Regions from separate parts of the Homo sapiens genome. Here region 2 is linked to region 1. The links are contacts of gene promoters, found by promoter capture Hi-C in human tissues and cell types (Jung and others, 2019). All regions are on one chromosome and are shown on one strand. Each heading gives the region's core, a stretch centred on a gene start or on the middle of the fragment in contact. The rest is flanking DNA. Distances are from core to core; before and after follow the strand shown.

What was found. The method cuts DNA at HindIII sites, captures the fragments that hold promoters and counts their contacts. A contact is called where the count stands out against the background at its distance.
Region 2: a fragment that was not itself captured here is called in contact with the fragment with the promoter of VSIG1 in region 1 in 2 of the 25 tissues and cell types used here (dorsolateral prefrontal cortex and ovary).

What each region holds. Positions count from the first base shown.
Region 1 is chrX:108,041,265-108,047,556 of GRCh38, reverse strand. VSIG1 (V-set and immunoglobulin domain containing 1) reads right to left here and starts at 2,492. Exons shown (of 7, transcript NM_182607.5): 1 at 2,378-2,492. The coding sequence starts at 2,426. The HindIII fragment of the contact is 11,178 bases long and covers 1-6,167 here.
Region 2 is chrX:108,004,265-108,010,258 of GRCh38, reverse strand. No RefSeq gene overlaps it. Among named protein-coding and RNA genes, the nearest start is that of TEX13B, 25 kb to the right of the region's middle. The HindIII fragment of the contact is 6,858 bases long and covers 1,260-5,994 here.

The DNA.
Region 1 (6,292 bases), core at 1,243-3,742:
AAATGATCACTCACTTTTTTGGATTTGAGTGCAAACTCAAAGTTCAAATATATTACTCCTTTAAAATGCATAGCATATACCTCCAGAAAATGAAACCCACATTAACATATCTTTCTAAGAGGTGACTAATACATATTTCAAATACCTAAAATGATATGCATAAATTTTTTGCAGAAGTTTGATTAAAACTCGTTTTCCTGAATTAGAATTTAACCTAAGAATTCCTAAGAAGTCATTGAAAATATTTTGATTTAAGCAAAATCTGACCTGTTTAGTTATATCAAAATCAATTTTAAATATGTATGTGAAAATGATGTCTGGATGTTTGGAATTTGGGAAAGTAATTCATTCTTTCAACAAACATTTACTATGCATCCACTATGTGTTAGGCACCACGCTTAACACCAAAAAGTGACATTCTCTCCAAAACAAGTCCAGGAAGAACATCAAATTGCACATTGATGGAAACACTATCAGTTGTCCAGATCAACTGATGAACACTGCTAATGACAGGTGTAGATTACTAAAGTGATCCTTTCTCTGACTTCAATACATATGTAAGCACAGCAAACGACAATAGAGCATACCACAATTTGCTGTACTGACACTACTGCTTTGGGCCAACTAGATAATATGTGTGTAGATATATAGTGTACACTATATACCAACAAAATCAGTTATATAGTAACTTAGGAAACACACTCTGAAGTATTTATTGGTCTTGTTCTAAAAGTCACAATAAAATAAAATCCTGACATGATGCTAAACAATTTTTTTAAACAATAAAAAAGTATACAAGGAATAAACCCAATTTTTAAAATGTAATATATACACCTGCAAATAAAAGAATAATAATTCACCCAAATCTGAGTGGTAAAATTGCAGATGATTTTTATTTTATTTTAAATTTCCATATTTCCAACCTTTCTACAATGACCATGCATTACATTTATAATCAGTAAAAATTACTTGTATGTTAGGTACAGTTAAAAAAAAAAAAAACTGTTCTTAACAACCGTTCCAAACCCTGTGCCTAGTATGGGCCAGGGCAAGGCTTCACATAGGGAAACAGGTATGATCTTAGAGGGCTGATGCAGAAGGCCCAGGGGTCGACCCAACTGGCTAATGACTGGAAACCCTTTAAGAAGAGACAAAACTTCCATATCTAAAGTTACATTTAAATGAATATGCCTGGGGAGAAGGGAAAATAGGAACATGTGTTTCCAGCTCTAGGGCCTAGTTAGGTCACTGGACAAATGGAGTATTGCCTTCTGGTGATGTTTAACTCCATAAAACATCTATGCTTAAACATTTAGTAATGAACATTTAAAGAACTATTTCTAAACATGAGATCACTTTGAAAAGTAACACTTTTTTCTAATTATAAAAATAGCATAATGTTCTTCGTAGAAAACCCAGGAAGTATGAAAAGCTGGGAAATAAAATTAAAATCATCTATAATCCCATCACCCAGAGGCAACCACCATGAGCACTTCGGTATATAACCTTCTAGTAATTTATTCTAGGCATATGTGTGCATCCTGCTTTTTCACTTAATATTTTATCGTGGGTATTTTCTTATGTCATTAATACGCCTAGTAAACCTCATTCTAACCACTGCCTAATATTACTAATGGCTTGAAAATCCTGTTTTTGGATAAACAATATTATTGTATTTACTATGGACCTAACTTATAAGAACAGATGCAAAATGTATCTGATATTTGAAAACTACCCAAGGGATTTTTGGAATTAATGATCTCTCCTGGATCTAACTAACATCAGTATTTTGATTCCAAAATTGATTTTCTTCTGTTCAGATACCTAAAATCACCCATGTTGTGCACCATAAATCACTCACATATTTTGCAAAATACAGTCTTAGGATTGGAAAACCACAACTCCTTAAGAAATATTAGACAGTAAAGTACTCAGTAAATTTCTGTTCTTCCCATATGTAAGCCAGGGCAGGCCCTCCAACCCAGGCTCTGCCTGCTAGAGCAAGTCAATCACTGAGCTTAAAGGAAACACTAAAGTAAGTAAAACAGAGACAAAATTATCCCTAGCACAAAGTTTGGTTTCTGAGTAAATTCATTTTTTTCACTTTTCAAAGTAAGTAAAGTAATAAACTATATTTTTTTCTGAGAAAATTTTCATTCAGAAGCTCCATAAAACAATAATATTATGGGCTTACACCCCTAATATATCAGCATGGCATATGTTTGCTAAGCAAGAGTTCTGAAAATTAACTCATCATACTAATCACAATTCATTTGAAGTACAGGAGATGAAAATTCTATGTAAAAATGTGGAATTTTTATTTAAAAGGAAACTCTGTTTCCAATTATATTTGGTGGTTTGGAGATCCTTTCCTTACCTGCAAGGCAGCTTAGGATCAGAAAGACCTTCCAAAATGCGAACACCATTGTGTGGAGGTTAGTTGAGAGCAGCAGGTGCCAGTAGCTTGCCTGGACTAGGCTGAGTCTCAAATTGGCTTCTTCGATCACACCGAGGTTTGCCTGGCTTATCTGCTGGGCATCGCCAAGCAAACATGCCTCTTTGGGCTTACTTATTGCGTATAGACTTTTTTCAGTACAGATTTGTGTTTCTTTGAAACACTTTTCATGGGGCGTGTTTCCTTGATATATTTGCTACTGTGTTAATAATAAACCCACGCATTTAAATTATTCAAGCTCCTTGTACACAGATTCTCTAAGTCTCATTGTTTAAAATCAATCTTACTAAAACGTTGTACTTGGGCTGGGGGATATGGTTGGAAGAGAGCCTATGCAAATAAAAGCTGACAAGGCTAATTAATTTCAAATATTTCCATGAGTCTTACAGAATTGATTCACTAACCTCCTTTTACAAATTAAGTTAGTAAATTGGTACTATATCGTTTCCTGGGGAGATGGGGCTCACGGGAAGGGCACAGGGGTTATGAAGCTAAAAAGCATTCATTTCTGTGTGAACAAACTCTGGATATGTTACTCTTTTTTGAAACACTGGCAGTTGTCACTACCCTCCACCAAAACTAGCAGTAAAATGATTTACATGCTTTTGTCTGTCGGGTTAGAAACCTTATAGCACGTATTTGCTAACGTAATTTTGCAAAATCAAGTTAGTGAATACATGCTTAAAGACTTTCTTTGGAGAAGTCTGATTTTTTGGAGAATTAAGATACTCAGTAAATGCTATAGGGTTTCCTTAGAAATGGAGGTTCACCAGGAGGGCATGGGAGGCTCCACAGGTAAGGAACTTTCATGGGAACATGAACTTCTAATAGTGTTCCTATTATGCTTAAGTTACCCGGAGAAACCTAAGGACTTTCTCTGGCTCTTCCCATGTGATTTCTAAGTCCTATCATTTCCATCTCCACAGCGACTTTCAGATGTGTTCTTTCTCCAATCTGCTGCTTCCATCTTGGTCCAGGTACTCAGCTTCCCACTTTGGCCTATCATAGCAGCTTCCTAAGTGGTCTCCCTGACTTATTCCACCTTCATCCTGTGTGCCAGCCGCAGGCCAATGTTCCAGCCCTAGTGAAATATTTCCAGTAACACCATAAATGGACTCTTTCATCAAATCCAAAGTCCTTAATATGGATTCCCATTCTTCCAATATCTGATCCTCACCTCATCTGAACTTTAGCCACATTAACTCATGCCCCTGAAAAAGTATGTCAAGATTTATTGCCTCAAAGTGTTCAGTCACATGAAATGTGTACAAATTTCAAGTGATATGTTTTATGTTCCTGTCTTTAATTTACAGGAAATGTTTGACCCCATCTTACTTTAGCCATTCCAATCTCCCACTGCTTCTTAGAAAGCCATTTTGCTTCCATCATGCCTGATTCCTCCTTGCAGCCTATCCTGTCCATGCTCATGTCTGATGCCAAACGTTGGCTCCAGGTGATTTCCATCACTAGAGTTTTCTTCTTCCTCCTCTTACTAGCCAAGTATATTCTTAGCATAGATCAGTCATACTGTCCTATGTGAGAATTTCAATGAACCGACATACCACCCTAGCATAAATTTCCATTTTACTTAAAGCCAATATCCTACAGCTGACCATTGATTATTCTCCAGTAGTTTCGCATTTATTAACTGGTCTACCTTAAATCTAGTCACTGTGAATCCCTCCAGGGTAGGGACCATGTCTTATACAGGCAGTTCCCAACTTTAAAATGAGCGTGTCCCAAGATGTAATGGTAAACTCGTTGACTGCACGCAAGAACTCCTGCAGAAGCAATGTTATAATATGAGTCTCACTGTCAGGCATGTAGCACATAATCTAGCACTGGCTTGAATTCTGCGTACTGGGCCGTATAAGGCAGTGGAGGGTGAGGAGGAACAGCAGGTGACAGAGAAAGAACGTTCCTTTCATTTCCCAAGATATGACTTGTGCACAAATCAACATTTTCCCCCAAATAACTATTGCATGTCTCTGACATCCACCTTCTCTTCTGCCTCCCACCTTCACGGCCCCCTGGCTCCTGGGTCCCTAGTTTGCCCTAAGGGAGAGTCTCATTCCCCAGAATATCTCATGCTCCAAAATTACTTTTTCCTTTTCACCTCTATTCCTCCCAGAAACCCTCCCTTTCCCCTGTATAAGCAGACAGCAGCTCCATGTTAGGAAGGGAAAAAAAAACGTTTCATTGAACATTCTCCAACCTGTTTGTGCTATTAAAAATACAGTGCTTACTTTCCTCACATAAATCTCTGACCAGGAGAATTAGGCAATGCAATAAAGAGAAATAGTTTGAGGGAGAAGATTTTGCAAAGGAGGACAACTTGTAGGGTGGGTCTCTGGAGATCCATACCACCTTTTCTCAGGCTTGGTTCTGCCTTGACTTCTAAGTCCACCAAGTCTCTAAAAGACCCATAGTTTTCACAATGCCCCCCACCCTGGAAGTAATACCGGTAGTTCCAGTGGTGAGGACGTGGGATGGGGAGCGAAATTTATAAGTCTGGCATTTGTAAGCCAGAAGCTTCCTGTGTTTCCTTCCATGCCCCATAAGTGATTATAGTAGTGTGACCATTGATCATTAAAACTAGGACACTTTTGAAAGTGAAAGGGGCACTATTAGCAATTACCTGGGAAAGACAGCATAAACAGTAACAGTGCCAGACAAACCTGGGTGTCTGGTTACCTACCCACAGGGGATTACTAGGCACAAAGTAGGTGCTAAGTAAGAGCTTGCTAATTAATTCAGTATGTCTGAGTTGGTTGGCCCTAAGATGAGTGCAGCAGAGGGTATGATTTAAGGATATTGCCCAAACCCATCTGCACCAAAATCTGTTGTGCAAACACAAAACACTCTGGAATATTTAAGTAAAATATCTATACTGCTGCTATGTAAGACCTAACCAGGACAGGAAGAATTCTGTTATAACAAACTCTAAAAGAGAATTTAAACTCTCTGCTTGGACCTGGATTTTGATGTTATTAACTATTGCTTAAAAAGTGGGTCATTAACTAGGACACGAAATATTAAATATCCTTTGCAGTTTTATAGAGCTTTATAATTTTTAAACTAATTTTCCATTTTATCTTTGTAGCTTTCCAATACAACAAATAAATCAGGTATACCTACATTTTCTATATAAGAAAACTGAGGCTCAAAAGTGCTGTGCTTTTCCCAAGGTCACCATAGCACGCATTAGAAGCTGTTCCTATCACACCACACAATGGCACGGTGTGATTGTAATGTAACAAATATGCTACTGCCCCCAGTATTCTTCCTTGGGAACTTTCAGAAATATGTGATATCTGATTTATCCCTCATTTTTAACTTAAAAATTACAAAAGTAATACATTTTGATAGTAAATGGTTTTCAAAGGACAAACAAGGATACAGAGGAAAAAAAGTCCCATTCATTCACTCACACATGTAATCCCTTTCCCAGGCTCACATGGAACAGGAGTTTAGCATTTTTCTCAGACCTTTTTCTATGCATGTACACATGCACAAACACACACACACACACACACACACACACACACGAGGTTTTTTAAAACATAAAGATGATAATACTGTACATTTTGTTCTATAATTTGCTTTTCTCCCTTAAAAAAGGTATTTTTATTCTCTCTTTCTGTCACTGGGTCCAACTGCATCTATAGATCAACCTTGTCCATGTTAAGGCTGCATGGTATTTCATGATATGAATGTACCTCAATTTATTTAATCATTCTCTTATTGGTAAATTCTTAGATGGTTTCCAGTTTTTCAATATTATTGACAATGGTTCAATGAACATGTAGCTTTCCAATACAACAAATAAGTCAGGTA
Region 2 (5,994 bases), core at 3,439-5,938, 39 kb after region 1:
GCTGTAGTGACAACAAAGACATAAAAACTAAAGAGGTAGAAGGATTTGGTCAGAGAAGTAGAACTCTAGCCACCAAAGACACCACTACCAGAGGCTACAAGGATCAAGACTGAAGCCACCTCATCTGGGACTAGTGCCATTCCAGATCATACCAGTGCAGAAACCGTAACTTCTGGGTTTACCACCATGTTAGTTCAAATAGGTAGAGACTATAGATGCTACACTGAGGAAACTCTGGCCATTAGGGCTAGTTTCCATTCCCTGTAACAGTCTGTTGAGGCTAAATCCACAGACTCCTCAAGAGTCTGTTGAGGCTAAATCCAAGTGGTCATCACTTCTCCTACAACTGACATCTAGCCTCTATTCCACTATCATCCTTATAATGCCATGTACATCCTTACTCCTCATCCAGCACTCCATTCCTCTCCCAGCCCTAGAAATTTTTCTCTGTGCCCTCTAGAATTGTCTCACTGTATCCAGCAAACCCTTCTATATCCTCAGCCTTGTCATCAAGAGTTCCCTTCATCCCTGACCTTAAGTGAAACCTGGGCCACCACTGCAGCCCTTTGGAGTAGGGCTTTTCTTTTCTGTCCTCAGAGCAAGATGAAGGGTAGGGTTGGTGTCCTCCTTGCCCCCATTTCTGCTTTCAGACCATTAAATTCCTATGCTACTGAAATAAAAGTGTAAACTATAAAACCCAAACCTGATGCTTTGAGTTCATTCAATTATATCCCCTCTTTCACTTCTAGTCATTCCTAGATTTACCTTTGGGCCACTCCCCTTCATTTATCAATGACTTTGGCCCCTGTTCACATCCTTTCTTCCTACCTCAAGATCTGCCACTATCCTCAGTGATTTCAACATCCCCAAGGATAAACAATGCAACATCTGACTACTCAGTTATTTGAAATCCATATCTCAGGTGGCTTTTCTCTTTCACCTTAGCCACACACACTGATAGTCATACCAGAGATCCTGTTATTATCTGAAACCACTTCACTCCAGAATTACAAGTTAGTTTAAATCATGAATTGTACCATCCAATCCTCTAGCCACAACCCCCTATTCACAGATTTTCAACTACTAACACTACAATCATTTCTCAGCTCCTATAGTTTATCGATCCTTCTACTTCCTCCAAGTCTATCAAGGATCTCCTTTTTTATTTCCCTCATTACTTAACTTAGATCCCATGCTTCATCATTTTGATAACACTCTTGACAGTACTCTAAGCTCCCTTGCCTTGAACTTGTTTTGTAAAACTTCTACCTTGCTAAACACAATTCGGTATGATATGGTTTGGCTCTATGTCCCCACCCAAATCTCATTTTGTATCTCCCATAATTCCCACGTGTTGTGAGAGGTACCCAGTGGGAGATAATTGAATCATGAGGGTGGGTCTTTCCTGTGCTGTTCTTGTGATAGTGCATAAGTCTCGCAACATGTGATGGCTTTAAAAACGGGAATTTGCCTGCACAATCTCTTTCTTTCCCTGCTGCCATCCACGTAAGATGTGACTTGTTTCTCCTTGCCTTCCACTGTGATTATGAGGCTTCCCCAGCCATGTGGAACTGTGAGTTCTCCATTAAACTTCTTTCCTTGTAAATTGCCCAGTCTCAGGTATGTCTTTATCAGCAGTGTGAAAACGGACTAATACACTGTGTTTTTGATACCTGCACCTGAGCACTGCTAGAAAAATTCACAATAGGGCATACTCGTTTACAAGAAGTTTAAGATCATCAGTCTGAAATAGGTTGCCAGCACTGCTGGACAATCAATTCTCCAGAACAAATATTTCAAACATTCTTTGTCTCGTCAAATCCTAGTTCTCCCTGACACACCTCCTTCCCTCACATCCTCCTCTGCTCTCAGCAGTTCTTCCTACTTCACAGAGAAAAATATCTGCTTCCATTCTCATCTTATTCTCTTCTGTTACATTAGAAAAGCTGTTACTGGCTGGGCACTGTGGCTCACTCCCAGGACTGTAATCCCAGGACTTTGGGAGGCTAAGGAGGATGAATTGCTTGAGTCCAGGAGTTTGAGACAAGCCTGGGCAACATGGTAAAACAGCATCTCAACAAAAAGTACAACAAATTAGCTGGGTGTGGTGGCACACACCTATGATCCCTGCTACTCAAGAGGCTGAGGTGGGAGGATCACCCAAGCCCTGGGAGGTTGAGGCTGCAGTGAGCTGTGATAGCACCACTGCACTCCACCCTAGGCAACAGAGTAAGACCATATCTCAATTATTTAACAACAACAAAAAAAAGAATAGAAAGGTTGTTACTATGTCTCTCCAATGGCAATCCCCCACGCGTACTTTGGATCTTCTATCTTTCAGGAGCCTTGCACTATTGGTGGTCCTTTACCTTTCCAGTTTTTTTTTTTTTAACATTTTCCACTCCATTAGACCTTTCCCAATAGGTTTAAATACGTTTCCATATCTCCACTAAAACAAACGAAAACCAAAAAACTTACTGAACTCCACACATTACTCAAGTTACCTTCTCCCCTTCACAGCCAAACTTCTTAAAAGAATTGTATCTTCCTAGTGTCTTGCTTCCAGGCCTCCTGTTTACCTCTCAATCCACTACTTTTTTATATAATTTCAATTTTAATTTTAGACTCAGGAGGTACATATGCAGGTTTGTTACATGAGTATATTGCATGATGCTGAGGTTTGGGATACAAATGATCCCTTCTCCCAAGTAGTGATCATAGTACTCAACAGTTAATTTTTCAAACTTTGCCACCCTTCCTCCTTTCCCCTCCAGTAGTCCCCAGTTTCTATTGTTGCCATCTTTTGTAGGTTTGTGTGTGTGTGTGTTTTGAGACAGGGTCTTATTCTGTCACTCAGGCTGGAGTGCAGTGGGTGATCTCAGCTCACTGCTGCCTCGACCTCCTGGTTTCAAGAAATCTCGCCTCAGCTCCCCAAGTAGCTGGAACTACAGGCGTGTGCCACCATGCCTAGCTAATCTCTTTTTTTTTCTTGAGATGGGGTTTCACTATGTTGTCTCAAATTCCTGAGCTCAAACAATCCACCCACCTCAGCCTCCCAAAGTGCTGGGATTACAGGCGTGAACCACTGAGCCTGGCCTTTATTGCTGCCATCTTTATGTCCATGTGTACCCAATGTTTAGCTCCCGCTTAGAACAAGATATGTGGTATTTGGTTTTCTGTTCCTACACTAGTTCGCTTAGGATAATGGTCTCCAGCTGCATCCATGTTGCTGCACAGCACATGATTTTGTTCTTTTTATGACGGCACAGTATTCCATGGTGTATATGTACCAAATTTTCTTTAACCAATTCAGCGCTGATGGGCACCCAGATTGATTCCATATCTTTGCTATTGTGAATAGTGCTGTGATGAACACATGAGTGCATGTGTCTTTTTGATAGAACGATTCGTTTTCTTTTGGGACTATACCCAGTAAAGGGACTGCTGGGTAAAATGGTAATTCTGTTTTTACTTCTTTGAGAAACCTCCAAACTGCTTTCCACAGTGGCTGAACTAATTTACATTCCCAACAACAGTGTATACACATTCCATTTTCTCTGCAGCCTTGCCAGTATCTGTTGTTGTTTTTTTTTTTTTAACTTTTTAATAATATTCCTTCTGACTAGTGTGAGAGGATTTTGATTTTCATTTCTCTAATAATTAGTGATGATGAACATTTTTTCTTATGTTTATTGGCCGCTCATATGCCTTCTTTTGAAAAGTGTCTGATCATGTCTTTTGCCCACTTTTTAATGGAGTAATTAGGTTTTTTGCTTCTTATAATTGTTCCTTATAGATTCTGGATATTAGACTTTGTCAGATGCGTACTTTGTGGATATTTTCTCCCATTCTGTGAGTTGTCTGTTTACTCTATTGATGGTTCCTTTTGCTGTGCAGAAGCTCTTTATTTAAGTAGACCCCACTTGTCAATTTTTGGTTTTGTTACAATTGCTTGAGGACTTAGTCACAAATTATTTCCCAAGGCTGATGTCCAGAAAGGTATTTCCTAGGTTTTCTTCTAGGATTCTTAGTTTGAAGTCTTACATTAAATTTTTAATCCACCTTGAGTTATTTTTTGTATTTGGTGAAATATAGGGGTCCAGTTTCCTTGTTCTGCATATGGCTAGCTAGCTATCCCAGCACCATTCATTGAATAGGAAGTCCTTTCCTCATTGCTTATATTTGTCAACTTTGTCAAAGATCAGATGGCTGTAGGTGTATGGCTTTATTTCTGGGTTCTCCATTTTGTTCCATTGGTCTATACGCTGTTTTTATACCAGTACCAGGCCATTTTGGCTACTGTAGCTTATAGTATAATTTTAAGTCAGGTAATATGATGCTTCTGGCTTTGTTCTTTTTGTTTAGGATTGCTTTGGCCATTCAGGGTCTTTCTTGGTTCGATATGAAGTTTACAATTTTTTTTTAATTCTGTGAAAAATTATTTTGGTAGCTTGATAGGAATAGTGTTGAATCTATAGATTGCTTTGGACAATGTGGTCATTTTTACAAATATTGATTCTTCCAACCCATGAGTGTGGAATGTTTTTCCATTTGTGTCATTTATGATTTCTTTCAGCAGTGTTTTATAGTTTTCATTGTAGAGATCTTTCATCTCCTTGGTTACATGTATTCCTAGGTTTTTATTTGTGTGTGTGTGGTTCCTGTAAATGGCTCTTGGCTTGAGTGTTATTGATGTATAGAAATGCTACTGATTTTTATACAATGATTTTGTATCCTCAAACTGTACTGAAATATTTGATCAGTTTTATAGCCCTTCACTGGAGTTTTTAAGGTTTTCTAGGTACAGAATCGTATCATCAGTGAAGAGAGACAGTTCGACTTCTTGTCCTATTTGGATTCTGTGTTAGTCTGTTTTTGTGTTGCTATAAAGGAATACCTGATGCTTGGTAATTTAATTTGTAAGGAAAAAAAAGGTTTTATTTTGGCTCATGGTCTGCATGTTGTACAGGAAGCATGGTGCCCACAAATGTTCCTGGTGAGGACCTCAGGAAGCTTACAATCATGGTGGAAGGTGAAGGGGGAGCCAGCACATCACACGGCAAGAGAGGAAGCAGATGGAGGGTGTCCTACACTCTTTTAAACAACCAGATCTCACATGAACTCATAGAGTGAGAATTTGCTCCTTACCACCAAGACGGCACCAAGCCATTCATGAGAGATCTGCCCCCATAATCCAAACACCTCCAACTGGGCCCAACCTCCAACATTGGGGATTGCATTTTAACATAAGATTTGGAGAAGACAAATATTTAAACTATATCAGATGCATTTTCTTTCTTTCTCTTGCCTGATTGCACCAGCTAGTAATTTCAGTATTATGTTGAATTGGGGTGGTGAGAGTAGGCATCCTTTTCTTGTTCCTACTCTCAAGGGGAATGCTTCCAGCATTCGCCTGCTCAGTATGATGTTGGCTGTGGGTTTGTCATTGATGTTTCTTATTATTTTGAGGTATGTTCCTTCAACGCCTAATATATTGAGGGTTTTTATCATGAAGGGTATTGGACTTTATCAAAAGCTTTTCCCACATCTATCAATATGATCATATGGTTTTTGTTTTTAATTCTATTTATGTGGTGAATCACTTTTATTGCTTTGCTGAACCAACATTGCATCCCAGAAATGAAGCCTACTTGATTGCGATAAATTAACTTTTTGTTGTGCTGCTGGATTCAGTTTGCTAGTATTTTCTCGAGGATTTTTGCATCTATGTTTCTCAGGGATGTTGGCCTGTAGTTTTCTTTTCTTGTTGTGCCTTTGCCAGGTTTTGGTATTAGGGTGGTGTTGGCTTCATAGAATGAGTAGGGAGCAGTTCCTCCTCCTCAATTTTTTGGAATAGTTTCACTAGAATTGGTACTAGCTATTCTTTGTACATCTGGTGGAATTTGGCTGTGAATCCATTTGGTCTGGGGCATTTTTGATTGGTAGGCTTTTTATTCCTGATTCAATTTCAGAACTCTATATTGGTCTGTTCAG